Regions from separate parts of the Homo sapiens genome. Here region 2 is linked to region 1. The links are contacts of gene promoters, found by promoter capture Hi-C in blood cells and fetal thymus (Javierre and others, 2016). All regions are on one chromosome and are shown on one strand. The core of a region is centred on a gene start or on the middle of the fragment in contact, and the rest is flanking DNA. Distances in the headings are between cores, read along the strand shown.

Region 1 (7,953 bases), core at 3,588-6,087:
GGCGTGAACCCAGGAGGTGGAGCTTGCAGTGAGCCAAGATCGCGCCACTGCACTCCAGCCTGGGTGACAGAGCAAGACTCTGTCTCAAAAAAGAAAAAACAAAACAGACTCTCCAAATTCCCATTGTTTACTTCATAAACAATTGGCTGGACAGTTTTGTCTTCACTGATCAGTCAAAACAAAATATCTCTAAATCCAACCTTAATGGTTAAGTTTCTCTCCTCCTTTCAGCCCTGAACTTTGACCCATCCTCCACAGCCTAAGGAAGCACCCACCCAATCCCTCCTTTATAAACCATCCTAAAAACAGACTAACCTCAGGAAAAATATTCTCTGACCTAGGATCCGATTTTGCACTTTCCACTCTGCCCTCTCCTCCCACCTATTCCTAATCTTATTTGTTCCTCCCCATGAATGAAAAACTTTTTTAGGGGAAGAGGAGGGGAGACAGGGTCTTGCTCTGTTGTCCAGGCTAGAGTACAATGCCAGAATCATTGCTCACTGGAGCCTTGATCTTCTGGGCTCAAGGGATCCTCCCACCTCAGCCTCGGCTGGGACTATAGGTGTGCACCACCACAATTTTTTTTAATTTTGTAGAGAGATGGTCTTACTATGTGTACAGGTTAGTCTCAAACTCCTGACCTCAAGCAATCCTCCTGTTTCGGCCTCCCAAAGTGCTGGGATTATAGATGTAAGCCGCCACTTCCACCAGAAAAGCCTTTTTCTGCCTAACCTCTGGGATGCTTGCAGATCTTGTATCTACTGCTTTCACCTTTTCGTTATACTCCTTTCACATAAAGTCACTTCTTACCTAACTCCGGATTTCTTGTATTTGAGGATGTCTAGAAACAACTCTCTCAAATCATGGGAGCCCATGGTTTACTGTTATTATCTGAACAATTAACTATTACAACCTCAGACAGGGTATCACCCTCCCAACTATGCCTATGTGTGCATCCCCAGCTTCCCAGTGGTCTGTAGCTTCTCTCAGTATAAAGGACCCCTCCCCTGGTTGGAGTGATAAGGCTGGGATGCCTGCCAAGTTCTACCCAGGAAGAACCAACTGGGACTTCAATGACCTCCCTTTGCAGGCTCTTAGTTGGGAGTCACTCTGAGGCACACTTGGCCTCAGACCTCTGCTTCCTTAGACAAGACTATATTCACTTACTTTTTTTTTTTTTTTTTGAGACTGAGTTTCACTCTTGTTGCTCAGGCTGGAGTGCAGTGGCACGATCTCGGCTCACCGCAACTTCCGCCTGCTGGGTTCAAGCAATTCTCCTGCCTCAGCCTCCCGAGTAGCTGGGATTACAGGCATGCGCCACCATGCCCGGCTAATTTTGTATTTTTAGTAGAAACAGGGTTTCTCCATGTTGGTCAGGCTGGTCTCAAACTCACCTCAGGTGATCCACCCACCTCAGCCTCCCAAAGGGCTGGGATTACAGGCATGAGCCACCACGCCCAGTTTCACTTATTTTTAAGTAAGAAAATATCCTGTGTTTGAAGAATCCAGCAAAATCACTCAAACTTACCATTTATGTATATAGGAGGAAAGGAAACTGTAAGACATTTGTATTCTTTTTTTTTTTTTTTTTGAGACGGAGTCTAGCTCTGTCGCCCAGGCTGGAGTCCAGTGGCACGATCCCGGCTCACTGCAACCTCCGCCTCCCGGGTTCACGTCATTCTCCTGCCTCAGCCACCCAGCAGCTGGGACTACAGGCACACACCGCCACACCCGGCTAATTTTTGTATTTTTAGTAGAGACCGGGTTTCACTGTGTTAGCCAGGATGGTTTCCATCTCCTGACCTTGTGATCCGCACACCTTGGCCTCCCAAAGTGCTGGGATTAAAGGCGTGAGCCACCGTGCCCGGCCAATTTTTTGTATTTTTTAGTAGAGACGGGGTTTCACCATGTTAGCCAGGATGGTCGCGATCTCCTGACCTCGTGATCCACCTGCCTTGGTGCTGGGATAACAGGCGTCAGCCATCGCGGCTGGCAAGACATTTGTATTCTATAGCTTAAACATGAAAAGCACATTTATCTATCCCTTTCAGACAATAGAGACCTCACATTATTGTTACTTCCATGACAACTTCTTTACTAATATTTAATTCACTAATATTTAATATTTCAAAGTCCCATCTGATAGGATTTAGCATTAATCACCAAAGTCCAGATGAAAGGATACAGAACAGTTATCCATTACGACAAAATCTCTACCCTGCAAAGGAGAAGATATTTTAGAGAATCTCTGTATTTCACCAATTAATGTGGAAATGTATTCGTTTCTCTGTAGCCATAATGGAAGACTGAATTTCCCTACTTATCTGAGATTCTTATCCGCAGTAGCATTCTCAAGGCTAAGTTCTGGGATTGATCTGAAATCACCCAAAAGAAGAAAATAGACCTGAGAAACCTACCATACATGTTGCGGAGAGGAAACTACACAAATAAGATTTTTTAACAAATTGAATGTAAGACTAGATAATTGTTTTCCCTCAAATCTACTTTCTGCCTCTTTCTCCCCTTTGTGACCCTCCCTTTGCAAACACTTTATCTTGTCTTTCAAGCACTACTGATAAAATACATTCTACATTTAATGAAAAACAGGATCAAATAAGCAAATAAACCTTTTCAAGGGTTTACAAACCCAGGGAGAGGCAATGCTGACCTGGAATACAGACATTTATCTGATTCCAATGTCAGGTGAGGTCACCCTATCCCCTAGGACATCTCCCAGCCCCACCCTGGCTCACTGAGTGCTCAGTGACCAACCTCCCTGAAGACAGTGAATTGTGCCCTGCTCACTCTGCCCCAAGCGCATTTTAACTTTCAGGTTCTCGCACCATTTCAATGGGGCAGGTTTTCCTTCTCCTTTGAGATAGTTTTCCTCCCTTCACTAGACTAAAAACAATCCAGAGGTCAGGAATCATTTGTGTCTTTTCCTCTCAGTAACAGCCTAAGATTGGGTAACCATCAATGTGTCCCTAAGGAACGGAAACTGGGGTTGAGGAAGAAAAGCTGAGCGTCCCAAAGGGTAAACTTTTCAGAGGAAGGGGATACCGGGAGACTCCTCCCACCTCAGGGCATACAGCTGCTCCCGTGAGAGGCCCCACCCCTACACCTTAAGCTGTCCTCTGGGAGGAGTGACCCAGGGGTTGATAATCACTAGATCCTCCAAGAGAAGTGGCAGCTGTGGGTATCCTGGGTCAGGCCCAGGCAGTTCTGAAAATCAGGACCAGGAAAAGATAGAGGGCCACATCACCTTGTAAAGTTTCCAAAGGGGAAACTCCACCCAAAGACATTCTGATTAGGCGTCGGGGCTTAGGAAAGATAAAAGGAGGGGAAGCACAAAAATTTTTTTACCACGGCCGGGCGCGGTGGCTCACGCCTGTAATCCCAGCACTTTGGGAGGCCGAGGCAGGCGGATCACCTGAGGTCGGGAGTTCGAGACCAGCCTGGCCAACATGGAGAAACCCTGTCTCTACTAAAAATACAAAATTAGCCGGGCATGGTGGCGCATGCCTGTAATCCCAGTTACACGGGAGGCTGAGGCAGGAGAATCGCTTGAACCCAGGAGGTGGAGGTTGCAGTGAGCTGAGATCGCGCCATTGCACTCCAGCCTGGGCAATAAGAGCGAAACTCTGTCTCAAAAAAAAAAAAAAATTTTACCGTAGAGTGTCAGGTTCTTATTCTCCGTTTCCCTCTCAGGTTACAAGTACACAAACAAGAGGCCGGGCGCGGTGGCTCACGTCTGTAATACCAGCATTTTGGGAGGCGGAGGTGAGCGGATCACCTGAGGTCTGGAGTTTGAGACCAACCTGGCCAACATGGAGAAACCCAGTTTCTACCAAAAATACAAAAAGTAGCCGGTCGTGGCGGCGCATGCCTGTAATCCCAGTTACTCAGGAGGCTGAGGCAGGAGAATTGCTTGAACCCGGAAGGCGAAGGTTGCAGTGAGCTGAGATCTTCCCACTGCACTCCAGCCTGGGCGACAGAGCGAAACTCTGTCTGAAAAGAAAAAAAAAACAACAAACAGAAAACAAATCCTTTCAAAAGAGTATGGTGAAAGAAACTATAAACAACTAAAATACTGTGTCTTAAATGTCAAACAAAAAACAGCTGATAATGTTGATTTGGCGAGGGGAGGTCACCTTTGGGAATGCGGGGAAGGAACCGGAAATTTAGGCATTTATTTCCAGCCCCAGAAAAAGCTAGGCTAAAAAAAACGGGAGTCGTAGGTTTGAGATTCTTTTTCCAGTACGTTTGGAAGACTCGGAGGAAGACCAGTCCCCCGGAAAAAAAGACGATGTACTGGGAAGGCCACAGCCCACAGCTCTTCCCATGCACGAACCGCACACCCGAGACGGGATTCCGCCTTATGACCCTCCCGTGTCCCAGTACAAACAATCTGGAGAGAGGCGGGGCTGCGGGCGCGGAGCTGCCCAGACAGGGCTCCGAGGCCGAGGCCGCAGTCGCCGCGCAGGGACGGGACAGGACGCCTGGGGTACTGGCTACGGCCCAACCCACCCTGCGGCCGAGGGGACAGAGGGCCGAGCTGCGCCAGGGAACTCGGGTCCCAGACCCTGGAGTCGCTGCAGGGAGGCCAGGGTGCTTCCACAGCCGGTTCCGGCCGGTTCCCACAAGCCCCTCCCCCAGTCTCCAGGCGCCCGGCCCCGCACACGCACCATTTCCTGGCTTCCAGGGTGTCCCGGGGTCCTGCCTACGGCTCTCTCCGGCCTGTGCAGGTCCCAGCGCGCCAGACGCTGCGGTGGAGCCACCGGGGCCACTGGAGAAGCGGAGACCGGAACCCAAACGCAGCGGACACGAAACAGGAAGACCCCGCGGAGTTGTTGAACATTGCCCCTGTCCCCCTTGCAGAGTTCCTGATTGGATGGTTTGCAGGTTCCCGCCCCAGTGCCCCTGATTGGGTGATGATTCAAGTCCTGCCCCCTTGGTACTGAGTGACAGGAGAAGCAATGCGGTATGTGGCTGAGTAAAGACAGATTGACAGGGTCTTGGCCACTGCCCTTCGCGGGCCGGGCTTCCTCCTTCTGTAACCTTCTGTGCCGGGGAGGATATTTGCATTTAAGCAGAAAGTGTTTCAGGCTCTGCAGAGGTGACACTGGCGTGTTTCTGCACTCAGGGTGCCCTTCCTGCCTTTTCCTCCCGGACACAGAGTCACAAGTGTGCACAGGGAATGACAGACTCGGCGTCCAGTGGAGCCATCCCCTGGCCTCGGAGTAGGAGGCGCGCCCAGGCCAGGCCAGACCACAGTGTAACAGGAGGGAGGAGGGCTTGCTTCTTTCAGGCAAGAAAATTAAAACGGACAAAGAAATAAAAGTATTAAATGTATAGGAAAAACTGGAGTTTTTATGACAGCGATCATCTATAAAGAAACCAAGAGAAGTAAGCAAACATTTGAACTAGCTCAGACAAGCAGCCTGCTTCACCCGCAGTTCACAAGGAAAACCCACAATCATAACGTTAAAAATATTCCCAAGCGCCGGGCGCGGTGGCTCACGCCTGTAATCCCAGAACTTTGGAAGGCCAAGGTGAGAAAATTGCTTAAGGTCAGGAGTTCAAGACCAGCCTAACCAACATGGTGAAACCCCATCTCTACTAAAAATACAAAAATTAGCCAGGCGTGGTGGCAGGTGCCTGTAATCCCAGCAACTCGGGAAGCTGAGGTACGAGAATCGCTTGAACCTGGGAGGGGGAAGTTGCAGTGAGCCGAGATAGCGCCATTGCACTCCAGCCTGGGCGACAGAGCGAGACTAAAAAATGAAATATGAAATGAAATGAAATAATGAAATGAAGAAATGAAATATAAAATAAAATAATCCCAAGCTTGGGACCCAGACTCTAACTGCTGAAATGGAACCCCAGTGTGGATCAGAACCTGGTGATGAGACAGGGACACTTAAGAATTCAACTTTGGGAGCTCAAGGTGCCCTCCAGTCCTCTCCTCACAGTGTGGAAACACTCTTTCCTTCAAAACCTTCATTTGTACCAGCAGGAAACTCTCACCCGGAGTCAATGTAAAGTCGTGACCTAAATAAATTGTCATGTTCCCAAACCTTTTCTCCAGGGGACAATGCAAACAAGTTTTTCACTGAGTCTGACCCTCACAGATTTTCTTCATGTATACAAATTACAGCCTGACTCAGCGACCCCATGAATGCTAAAACCAAAACACTGTCCAGGAAATGGCCCCAGGCGCCAAAGGTACAACCTCAGAAAAGACAGAACCCTCCACCCCCAACCCAACCACATCTGCACATGGGTCTCCTGCTTTTCACAGCTCTGCAGCTTCTCAGAATCCACATTCCTGGCCAGGCGCGGTGGCTCACGCCAGCACTTTGAGAGGCCCAGGCGGGCGGATCACCTGAGGTCAGGAGTTCGAGACCAGCCTGGCCAAATGGTGAAACCTCGTCTATAGTAAAAATACAAAAATTAGCCGGGCGTGGTGGCGCGTGCCTGTAATCCCAGCCACTCGGGAGGCTGAGGCAGGAGAACCGCTTGAACCCGGGAGGCAGAGGTTGCAGTAAGCCCAGACTGCGCCACTGCACTCCAGCCTGGGTGCCAAAACAGTGAGACTCTGCCTCAAAAAAATAATAAAAGTAAAAAATAAAATTAAAATTAAAAAAAGAATCTGCACTCCTGAGCAGCTGGAGGCCACCTGCAAGGGCGGGCAGGCTGCCCAAGAAGCACCCTTTCCCTCTCTTTGCAGGCTCCAGACTGGTCTCAGGCTCTCCTGCCCACTGCAGTTTATTCACTTGCTTCTCACCAACACTGATCCACTTAGGTAAGAAAAAAGACCTTCAATCCCCTTTGCTGTTTGTTTGTTTTTAAGAAACTAGCAGAGTTCCTGCTTTCCTTCTGTGGTTATGTATAAGCTGGAAGACAAAAAATTCTAAAATACTTTATATGGATTTTAAAACTGGCAAGTAATGATTCCTTTGAGAAAACAAAGATATCAGCTATGCTATTATGATTTATACATTGGTTTCCATCCATGCTTCCTGACTCATAACTCCCATAGTCCTTGTTACAGTAAACAGAAACTCTCTCTCTCTGACCTTCTCCTGCCCCCCATTCACCTGTCCACTGCAGAACTCTAATGTGATCGTGGGTCATAAGACTCTCACTCCAAAGAGTGTCCTGTCCTGTACGCTGGGGAAAGGAATGCTACACAGAAGCCAAAAATTATCTGGACAGGGGTTGGATGCAGTGGTTCACGCCTGTAATCCCAGCACTTTGGGAGGCTGCGGAGGGAGGATTGCTCGAGCCCAGGAATTCAAGACCAGCCTGGGAAAGATGTCGAGACCCCATCTCTATGAAAAATAAATAAAAAGGCCGGACGCGGTGGCTCATGCCTATAATCCCAGCACTTCAGGAGGCTGAGGTGGGCGGATCATGAGGTCAAGAGATCGAGACCCTCCTGGCCAACATGGTGAAACCCCCGTCTCTACTAAAAATACAAAAATTAGCTGGGCGTGGTGGCGCGTGCCTGTAGTCCCAGCTACTTGTAGTCCCAGCTACTTGGGAGGCTGAGCCAGGAGAATCACTTGAACCCAGGAGGCAGAGGTTGCAGTGAGCCGAGATCACTACTGCACTGCAGCCTGGCCGACAGAGTGAGACTCCGTCTCAGAAAAAAATATTTTTCTTTTTATGTATTATTATTATTATTTTGAGACGGAGTCTTGCTCTGTCGCCAGGCTGGAGTGCAGTGGCGAGATCTCAAGTTGCTCACTGCAACTTCCGACTCCTAGGGTTCAAGCGATTCTCCTGCCCCAGCCTCCTGAGTAGCTGGGATTACAAGTGTGTGCCACTAAGCCTGGCTAATTTTTGTATTTTTAGTAGAGATGGGGTTTCACCATATTGGCCAGACTGGTCCTGAGCTCCTGACATCAAGAGATCCACCCGCCTCCGCCTCCCAAAGTGATGGGATTA
Region 2 (7,953 bases), core at 3,236-5,735, 290 kb after region 1:
GTGGAGAGGAAGGGGTCGGCGCCCTGGGGCGGGGCTGGGCAGGAGGCGGGAGAACTTGCACTAGGGTCAGCCGGGACGCCCCCACCCATAGGTTCGGGACGCTAACCGCGGGGAACGCTGTGGCCGCGCGTCCCGCCGCGCTGGGGACCCCGCCCCTCAGGCGCCGCCCGGCGATCCAGGGAGCTGCCGGAGGGGTGCAGCCTAGCGCTCCCCCTCGAGGATCGCCTGAGGGGCGCCTGGCCCGCCCTAGGGGGATGGGGCTGGGGCCGAAGTCATCGCCCTGGCGCCTCGCCAGGCTAGGGGTGAGGGGGCGCAGAGCAAAGTTATTGCCCTAGGGCTCATGCCCCTCGGGGCCATCGGCGCCGCTGGAGGCGTAAACATGTTTGTGCGGCAACCTCGCCCCTCACCACCCCAGGAGCCCCCTCCCGAGGCATAGGACGCCCTGCGTCCCCCACGCACCTGCCTGGCCATCAGGATTCTTCCTACTGCCCTAATTGGACAGGCACCTAGACAGCTTTCTCACTCTTCATTCCACCTCCTCCACTACAACATCCGCCCCCCCACCGCGATCCTCAAGTCCAGCCCAGCTTGTGGGTGGGCGGGAGCGATTTTTAGCTCCTTGCAGCCTTAGAAGATGCTGGTCTCGAGGCTGCGCAGGCGCAGGAGCCGTGCGTCCACTGCACGGAGTGGGACACTGAGGATCGCTGTGGAGTGTGGGGAAGGCGGGGACAAACTCAGGTGTCAGGAGCTCCTACCTCCAAGGTGGGGAGGGATTCTGTAGCCGAGAAGCGTCCTCTGCTCGTCTTCAGCTGCGTTTCTGAGGGGTTAGTACGGAAGTTCAGGGTTAATACGGAGGTCCGGTCCCAAACATCCCAGAGGGGAAGGTGATGATATCTGTGCCCCAAGGCCCTGCCTGGGGTCTGGCCCTTCTGAGCCTCCTTGGGGCTCAGCCCCAGGCTTGGTAATCTGGAGTTTAGATAAAGCCGAGAATGGGCCCAGACTCAGGCTCCATCCCCAGCCTGAATCTTGGGAAAAGAGGATTCAAACCCTCACCTAGGGCTTCGTCCATTTCTAGACTCCCCTAATCCATCATTCCCGAGGTTGAAGGCCAAGGGGAGCTGATTGGTCAGTGCAGCAGGAAAAATGGTGATCAGACTGCAGGAAGGACCTTCCAGGCGTCTGGGTAACGCCGGAGCCAGACATGAGTTGGAAAACTAATTTGCTTTCAGAGCCCAGATGGCCCGATCTCCGGAGCCTAGGCCTCTCTGAAGTGCTCCCACATTCTCTCCGCCTCTCGGGGGTGGGTTAGGAGAGTGGGTTCCGAGAGAAGGGAGGCAGCTGCGGCAAAGTTAGAGCAAGTACTGCAGCAGCCAGGTTGGGTCCGCGCCGTCGGGTTTCTGAGAAAAGGGAGGAAAGAGGCGGGGCCTGCACGGTGTGTCCCCGCCCTCCAGGCCGGCGTCAACTCTCATTGGCTCAGCGCCACGCGGGACTTTAAACTCCCGCTCGAGACACCGCCCCCAACGCGGAATGCTTCCACTCACCCACCCACCCACTCAACCCCAGGCTTGCTCTGGGTCCGGCGATCCCTGTCGGAGTCCTGTCCCCACCGCTTCCCTTCTGGCGGGATTAACCACTTCGCTGCCTGGATACACCCACATACGTTGGTGCATCCTCTTAGGAACTGTCGCATCACTGCTGAGCGCCCGAGGGTCCCCTGTGTGCAGCTAGGCTCTTTTTTTTTTTTTTTTTTTTGAAACGGAGTCTCGCTCTGTTGCCCAGGCTGGAGTGCAGTGACGCAATCTCGGCTCACTGCAACCTCCGCCTCCCGGGTTTAAGAGATTCTTCTGCCTCAGCCTCGCTAGTAGCTGGGATTACAGGCTCATGCCAACATGCCCGGCTAGTTTTGTATTTTTAGTAGAGAGTGGGTTTCACCATGTTGGCCAGCCTGGTCTTGAACTTCTGACCTCAGGTGATCCACCCGCCTCGGCCTCCCAAAGCGCTGGAATTACAGGCGTGAGCCACCACGCCCTGGGATCTTATATGTAGACAGCATCCTGAGTTCGAATGCCCTGTCTGCAGTGTCAACTATTAATCCTGTGCGGGAGAAGCGGAATCCACTTGGCCGAGCGGCTCTGCAGCTGAGATTGGAGGTGGCGTCTGTTTACACTGACGCCAAAGACCCGAACTTCCGCCGCTCCAGTTTGACCCTTTCTTCGTCCCTAGAATGTTTGGGGGCGCTAGCGGGTGGGGCTGGGTTCCAGGTCTTCTTCGGGTGGTGCTTAAAAGCCCTCCAGGGGCTTACCCTCCAAGGCCGGTTACCCGGATCTGGACACCCTGGGCTCTGTGGCCAGAAAATCCAGGTCTTGATTTCGCTTGGGCCATTGCAGACACGCAGCCAGGTCGACTGGTCCTCATTCACTCCGGTCATGCAAAGACAGAGGGAAAACCTGGTTTGGATTATCGGTCACCCGTGGCTCGGGAGGGCAGGGCTGCCCTTTGGCCCCGCCTATATGTTTGTCCGTTGTACAACGGGGTGGGAGGACGCTGTGGCCCATCCTCTGTCATGCAGCATGTCCCTCCTTAATAACGCCTGTTCTCCAGACTTAGTATTTATTGAGCACTTGCTATGTGCTAGGCACCATGCTAAGGGGCTAGGCATCTGCATCAACTCCTAAGATCCTCAAGGAGACACGGGACTATTGGAAGGTCATTTGCCAAGGTCATAAAAAGCAGAATTGAGATTTGAACCTAGGCTTTTTGCTTTTAGAGATCCTAGAAATGTCTAGGACATCCCTCATTTTCCTTTTGTTGGAGTCCCCTCCAAAGGCCTTTTGAAACTCTCCCCCAAATCTTTCCACCTGCAGCCCCACTCAGTTTCCTTCCTTCCACCTCACCCTGTGGATAGAAAACTGGCTGGCAGGTGTTGCCCCTTGTACCCCATTCCTTTCCTCAGAAAAAAGCCAAGACCCCATATCTCCTGATCCCTACAGTGACTTCCTAAGAGCTTGACAAATGGAAGGTGACCTTCTTCAAATGCAGACACATAAAGTTAATACTCACTAATTATTATTATTGTCATTATAAAAAATGACTATGCGGCCATCACCTGAATTTCCATTTTTATTTTTTTATTTTTTAAACTTTTTATTATTTATTTATTTATTGTTAATTGAGAGGGTGTCTTACTCCAGCAGTGGTGCAATCATAGTTCACTATAACCTCGACCTCCTGAGCTCAAGAGATTCTCCCACCTCAGCCTCCGTGGTTCCCATTTTAAATCTCAGTTGTGAGTCACTCTACTTACCTACCCCCCACCCCCTACCCCAACTCTATGACTCTAGCTGGGAGTCAGATAGATCTGCTGAGGTGTAGATGAGTCATTCATTCTTTCAACCTTTCATTCATTCAACCTTTCATTCATTCATTGAGTACGCTAAGCTTATTCCCGCCTCCAGGCCTTTGCCCTTGCAGTTCCCTCCACCTGGAATGCTCTCTCCACAGATCCTCCCATGGCTGGCTCTTATCTTTCAGCAACCAGCTTAAAAGTCACCTCCACAGAGCAGCCCTGTCTGACAATGTGTCTCCATCCTAGCCATTGTCCATCACATCACCCTGTTTAATTTATTCATAAGACTAATTATTGTCTAAAATGATTTCGTTCACTTCTACACTAATCTTGTTTAATGTCCCCTTTACCCTATAAATACTAGTCCCAAAAGGCCAGAAACTTTTTTTTTTTTCTCCTTGAGACAGAGAGTCTTGCTGTGTTGCCCACGCTGGTGTTTCCTTGGACTCAAGCGATTCTCCTGCCTCAACCTCCCAAGTAGCTGGGACTAGAGGTGCACACCACCACACCGGACTTGTAATTTATTCACTACTGTGTCCCTAGTGCCTAGGATTGGGTCAGCATACAGTAGGTGCTCAAGACATATTTTTCAAATAATGATTCCTATTTCATTTGCACAAACACACGCTGATATGCCAACTCACTTGCCTTTATATGGCGCCCCGCCTGTGTACGTGGGCCTCTGTTGGTCTCTGAGGGTCAGGAGAGGAATCACCCAGGGATCCTCTCCCCCAAGAAACTTGGCCCGCAGTGCATGGCCAAGGGTGAAAGTGACAGTGCTGAAGAGGGGCCTGTCTTACCCTGCTTCTGCTCCTCCAGGGAGTTGATAATGCTTGTGGGCAGCAACGGCAGGTCCACGCTGACCTTCATCGTTTTGCCCCTTTGCCTTCCAGAAGGATTTGCCCCTGCCCCGGAAAAGCAGCAGGTGAGCCTGGGGAGAGACGTGGCGGGGGCTGGCCGCCCCTTCTCCCGCCGGGGTGGGGGCGCCAGGCGAGTGCGCGGGCGGGGCCTGGCTCGCCGGCACGCAGCAGCGCCCCCTCCCGGCCGGCTGCAGCCGCAGGGCCCTCCCCTTCCCTGCCCTCCCCTGCCCGCTGCGGCGGCTGCAGCCTCCGCCCCGCGCGCTTGCTCCCCGCGCCGCCGCCGCCGCCGCCTCCGCCGCTGCTGCCGCACCTGCCACCATGTCGCCGCCGCCGGGTCATGTCTGACTCTCTCTGGACCGCGCTTTCTAATTTCTCGATGCCCTCCTTCCCCGGCGGCAGTATGTTCCGCCGCACCAAGAGGTAGACCCCCGATCCCCTAGACATTGTCCCGGCCCTCCCCGCAAAAGCCGCCGCTCCGGGTACTGCTGCAGGGCGGGGCCCGGGATGCTGCGCCCGGTCCAGCTGCGCCAGAGGTGCCCCAGCTGCGCCTTCCCGCCGGGGTTGGGGTTGAATGGGGGGTGGTGTGGGCCGAGTCTGGGGGGCTTGCACGCTGGAGAGGACGGCCGCGGGGGGAGGGGGCTGCGCCACTGGGGGTTTGTGGCGCCTTTGTCTGCTGGCGCTGCGGGCTCCAACAGCCTGGTGGGGGTAGAGGAAGAAGGGGAGGCTGGGGGGCTTGGCACCCTCAGAACAATAGCCGCAGCCTGGCCTCCCCCCACCCCCATGCCGCGTGCTCCTGGACGCGCTAATATGCTCAGTCACTGCGGCTGTGGGTGAGGGGACGGACGGAGGGGCTTGGGGCTCCCTCTTCGGGAGCTGGATGCTGAGGGGTAGAAAAAAGGGGGGGTTTATCATAACACAACCCCCCCCCCCGAACACAGCCTTACACTGAAAATAGTGACACACAGCGTCACACAGGACATGATGTCACACACATACACACAACAGCCCTAGTGGCCCAGATACACTGGGAGGTGCCACACATACCTAGCCTTGCAGCTGCCACAGGTCAGAACCATGCACAGACACACAGGGGCACCACGTCGTGTACACCTAGTAAGATGTCACTTACATGGCGATCCACACACACACAGTTATGTCATCCAAGATGCAAACATGTGTTTCAATATCCCATCCATGCATCCAAGAATGTCACAACACACGATGTCATATCTAGGTATCTCACATACTATGTCACACTGACATCAGGATAAACAGATGTAGGGATCTTGCAGAGACAGAACCACGCAAAATCACATGTTATCACATTGCAAGACTCACCTAGAGAATGTCAAATGTGGTGACATGTTTGGACACAGTGTCACAAGATGTTAAATTCACACAATAGATGCTACATACACATGGACAAGCATGGTGAATGTCACACCCAGACGGAAGGACAGTATCGGACACAGACTCAGAATGCCACACAAAGACATAGATACATGTAGGGGGGATCATGCATCCTGGCCAGGCATGGTGGCAGGCACCTGTAGTCCCAGCTACTCAGGAGGGTGAGGTGAGGCGGGAGGATTGCTTGAGCCCAGGAGTTTGAGGCTGCAGTGAGCCACTGCACACTGCACTCCAGCCGGGCGACAGAGCGAGACATTGATTTAAAAGAAAAAAAATAATAATAATACAACCTGCCTGTGTTACAGCACACATTGTTATGGACAAGTGGCATTTCACACTGTGTCACATAGACACACAAATGCTCAAATTGTATCACACAAGATAAACCCACGTTGTGTCACACGTATCACACTAGAATGCATTCAGCGTCACACATTGTTGAATTCATACAGTGGATACCACACGTGGATACCTACAGTGAATGTCACGCATAGACTGAGACACGCTCAGTATCACCAATGGTGTCACCTAGACACAGTGACTATCACACCATGACAGACACTGCCCTACACATAATCCATACTGAGAGTTTCTCACACACATGTCATATGCACATCCCCTGCCGTACACAGTCCTGCCGAGGCCTGCACCACCTTTCTTCGAGAAACCCTCCCAGGGAGCCTCCAAACACACATGGATGGGAGATAGGCGGGGATCTGAGACAGGAGGTCAGCTGGTGGGGCTCAAGAACTCACTGGGCTGCGGCCCGGCCCGGCCCCCCTGCCTTACCTTCCCCGCAGCTGCCGCACCAGTAATCGGAAAAGCCTCATCCTGACCAGCACTTCACCCACGCTACCGAGACCCCACTCCCCGCTGCCAGGTCACCTAGGTGAGGCCAGTGGTAGAGACTTGGTGGGTGCAGACTGGCCTACAGTAGGCGGGGCCTCAGGCGAGGAAGCGTGGTCATGCTACAGAAGGGGCGCAGTTTGAATGGAGGCGAACCAGTTTGGATAAGGGGCGGGGCCATGCTTGTGTGGGTGTGGTCAGTCGCAGAGGGACGGTCATTGGGGGGCGGAGACTCAGGTGGGCGGAGACTCAGGTGGGACGGACAGAAAGGAGGAGTCGTACCTGAGGGGCGGGGCCATCCCAGATGAAGCCAGAATCGTCTTGGAAGGGGCCAGGCTGACTCGGCAACGAAAAAATTTAGAGAGGCGGGGCCACAGGCGAAGGGGCGTGGTCTCCCCATAATAGGCGGGACTAGACTAAAGACAGGACATGCTGCTGTTTGCACGCCGCTTTAGGGAACGAGAGACCTGACAGGATTTGCCCCCTCTTTCTCTCATAGGCAGCAGTCCCCTGGACAGCCCCCGAAACTTCTCCCCCAACACCCCCGCCCACTTCTCGTTTGCCTCCTCCCGAAGGTGAGTCCCTCCCCTCCAGGGCCCCAGAACCCTGGGCAGACCCTCCCCAACCACTGTCTGGGCCGCCATCTGTTCTCCTCCTAATTGCACCCGAGCTGGGGCCTGAGGGGACCAGCGAGTGCCCCAAGGTCTCAGCGGGAAGGAGCGCCTAGCCTTCGGGGCGGGGCCTATAAGAAGGCGGGGTCCAATCGCCGATCTGGAACGGGGAAGGCGGTGGGGCTCCCTTTGCGGCAGGTCGAAAGCGCGTGCGCCCTGGGCGCGGGGTCTTAGTCTCTCCGAGCCTTGCTCTCCTGGCCAGGTGTTTCCATAGCAACAGGACGGGGCAGCCAAGATGACGTGCGCAAGCGCAGATTGCGCGATGCCTATCGAGGGACTCTTGGTCCCCGAGGTGGGGGAGGACGACTAGGGCTGTTTCTCAAGGGGAGGAATCTCAGGTTTCTTTCCAAGGGTCTCTTAGGGTTTCTGGGGTGTCCTTAAATGAATTTTCTATGGGCCTTTGGTGAAACTGGGGGAGGCAGAGAGGTTTCTCTGATGTTTTCTGGAGAAACGTTTCTGGGAGTTTGGGCCTGTCTCTTTTTCTTTGAACTCTATTCATTCTAAAAATGGTGTCTAAACACCTGCTATGTTCTTAGGAGCTGGGCGTATGGGGTCAATGACGTCCTGTCTCTACCCTCTGAGTCGAATAGGGCAGGCAGGCCAGAGAATGGGGATCAGTGCAAAGGCTGATGAAGGCTGTGTTGTGAGAGTCAAAGGAGACTGTGAAGACAGACAGCTCCCTTGGGAAAGTGGGGGAACCGCCTATTGACCATGGAATTTAGCTGAGGGCAATAGAGAGCCAGGACAAGGCTCTGGGATAGGGTCTCACATGTTTATCCGCAAGCGGGGAGGACTGAGCGAGGGGACTGCTGGGAGGAAG

The links. The method cuts DNA at HindIII sites, captures the fragments that hold promoters and counts their contacts. A CHiCAGO score of 5 or more calls a contact.
Region 2: a contact is called between the fragment with the promoter of MAST1 here and the fragment with the promoter of ZNF564 in region 1, in 2 of 17 cell types (neutrophils and total CD8 T cells). The highest score is 6.3, in neutrophils.

The regions. Positions count from the first base shown.
Region 1 is chr19:12,546,645-12,554,597 of GRCh38, forward strand. ZNF564 (zinc finger protein 564) reads right to left here and starts at 4,838. Exons shown (of 4, transcript NM_144976.4): 1 at 4,686-4,838. The coding sequence starts at 4,688. It overlaps LINC02926 (long intergenic non-protein coding RNA 2926), which reads left to right and starts at 5,082. Exons shown (of 2, transcript NR_187485.1): 1 at 5,082-6,225; 2 at 6,731-7,000. RefSeq lists enhancers at 3,475-3,977, 4,636-4,745, 4,811-5,105, 5,889-6,390, 6,391-6,890 and a silencer at 4,326-4,405. The HindIII fragment of the contact is 25,081 bases long and covers 1-5,845 here.
Region 2 is chr19:12,834,030-12,841,982 of GRCh38, forward strand. It overlaps MAST1 (microtubule associated serine/threonine kinase 1), which reads left to right and starts at 4,486. Exons shown (of 26, transcript NM_014975.3): 1 at 4,486-4,626; 2 at 6,417-6,505; 3 at 6,962-7,037. The coding sequence starts at 4,544. RTBDN (retbindin) reads right to left here and starts at 550. Exons shown (of 6, transcript NM_001270441.2): 1 at 460-550. RefSeq lists enhancers at 508-1,037, 6,473-6,532 and silencers at 4,099-4,282, 4,287-4,466, 4,517-4,566. The HindIII fragment of the contact is 9,607 bases long and covers 3,437-7,953 here.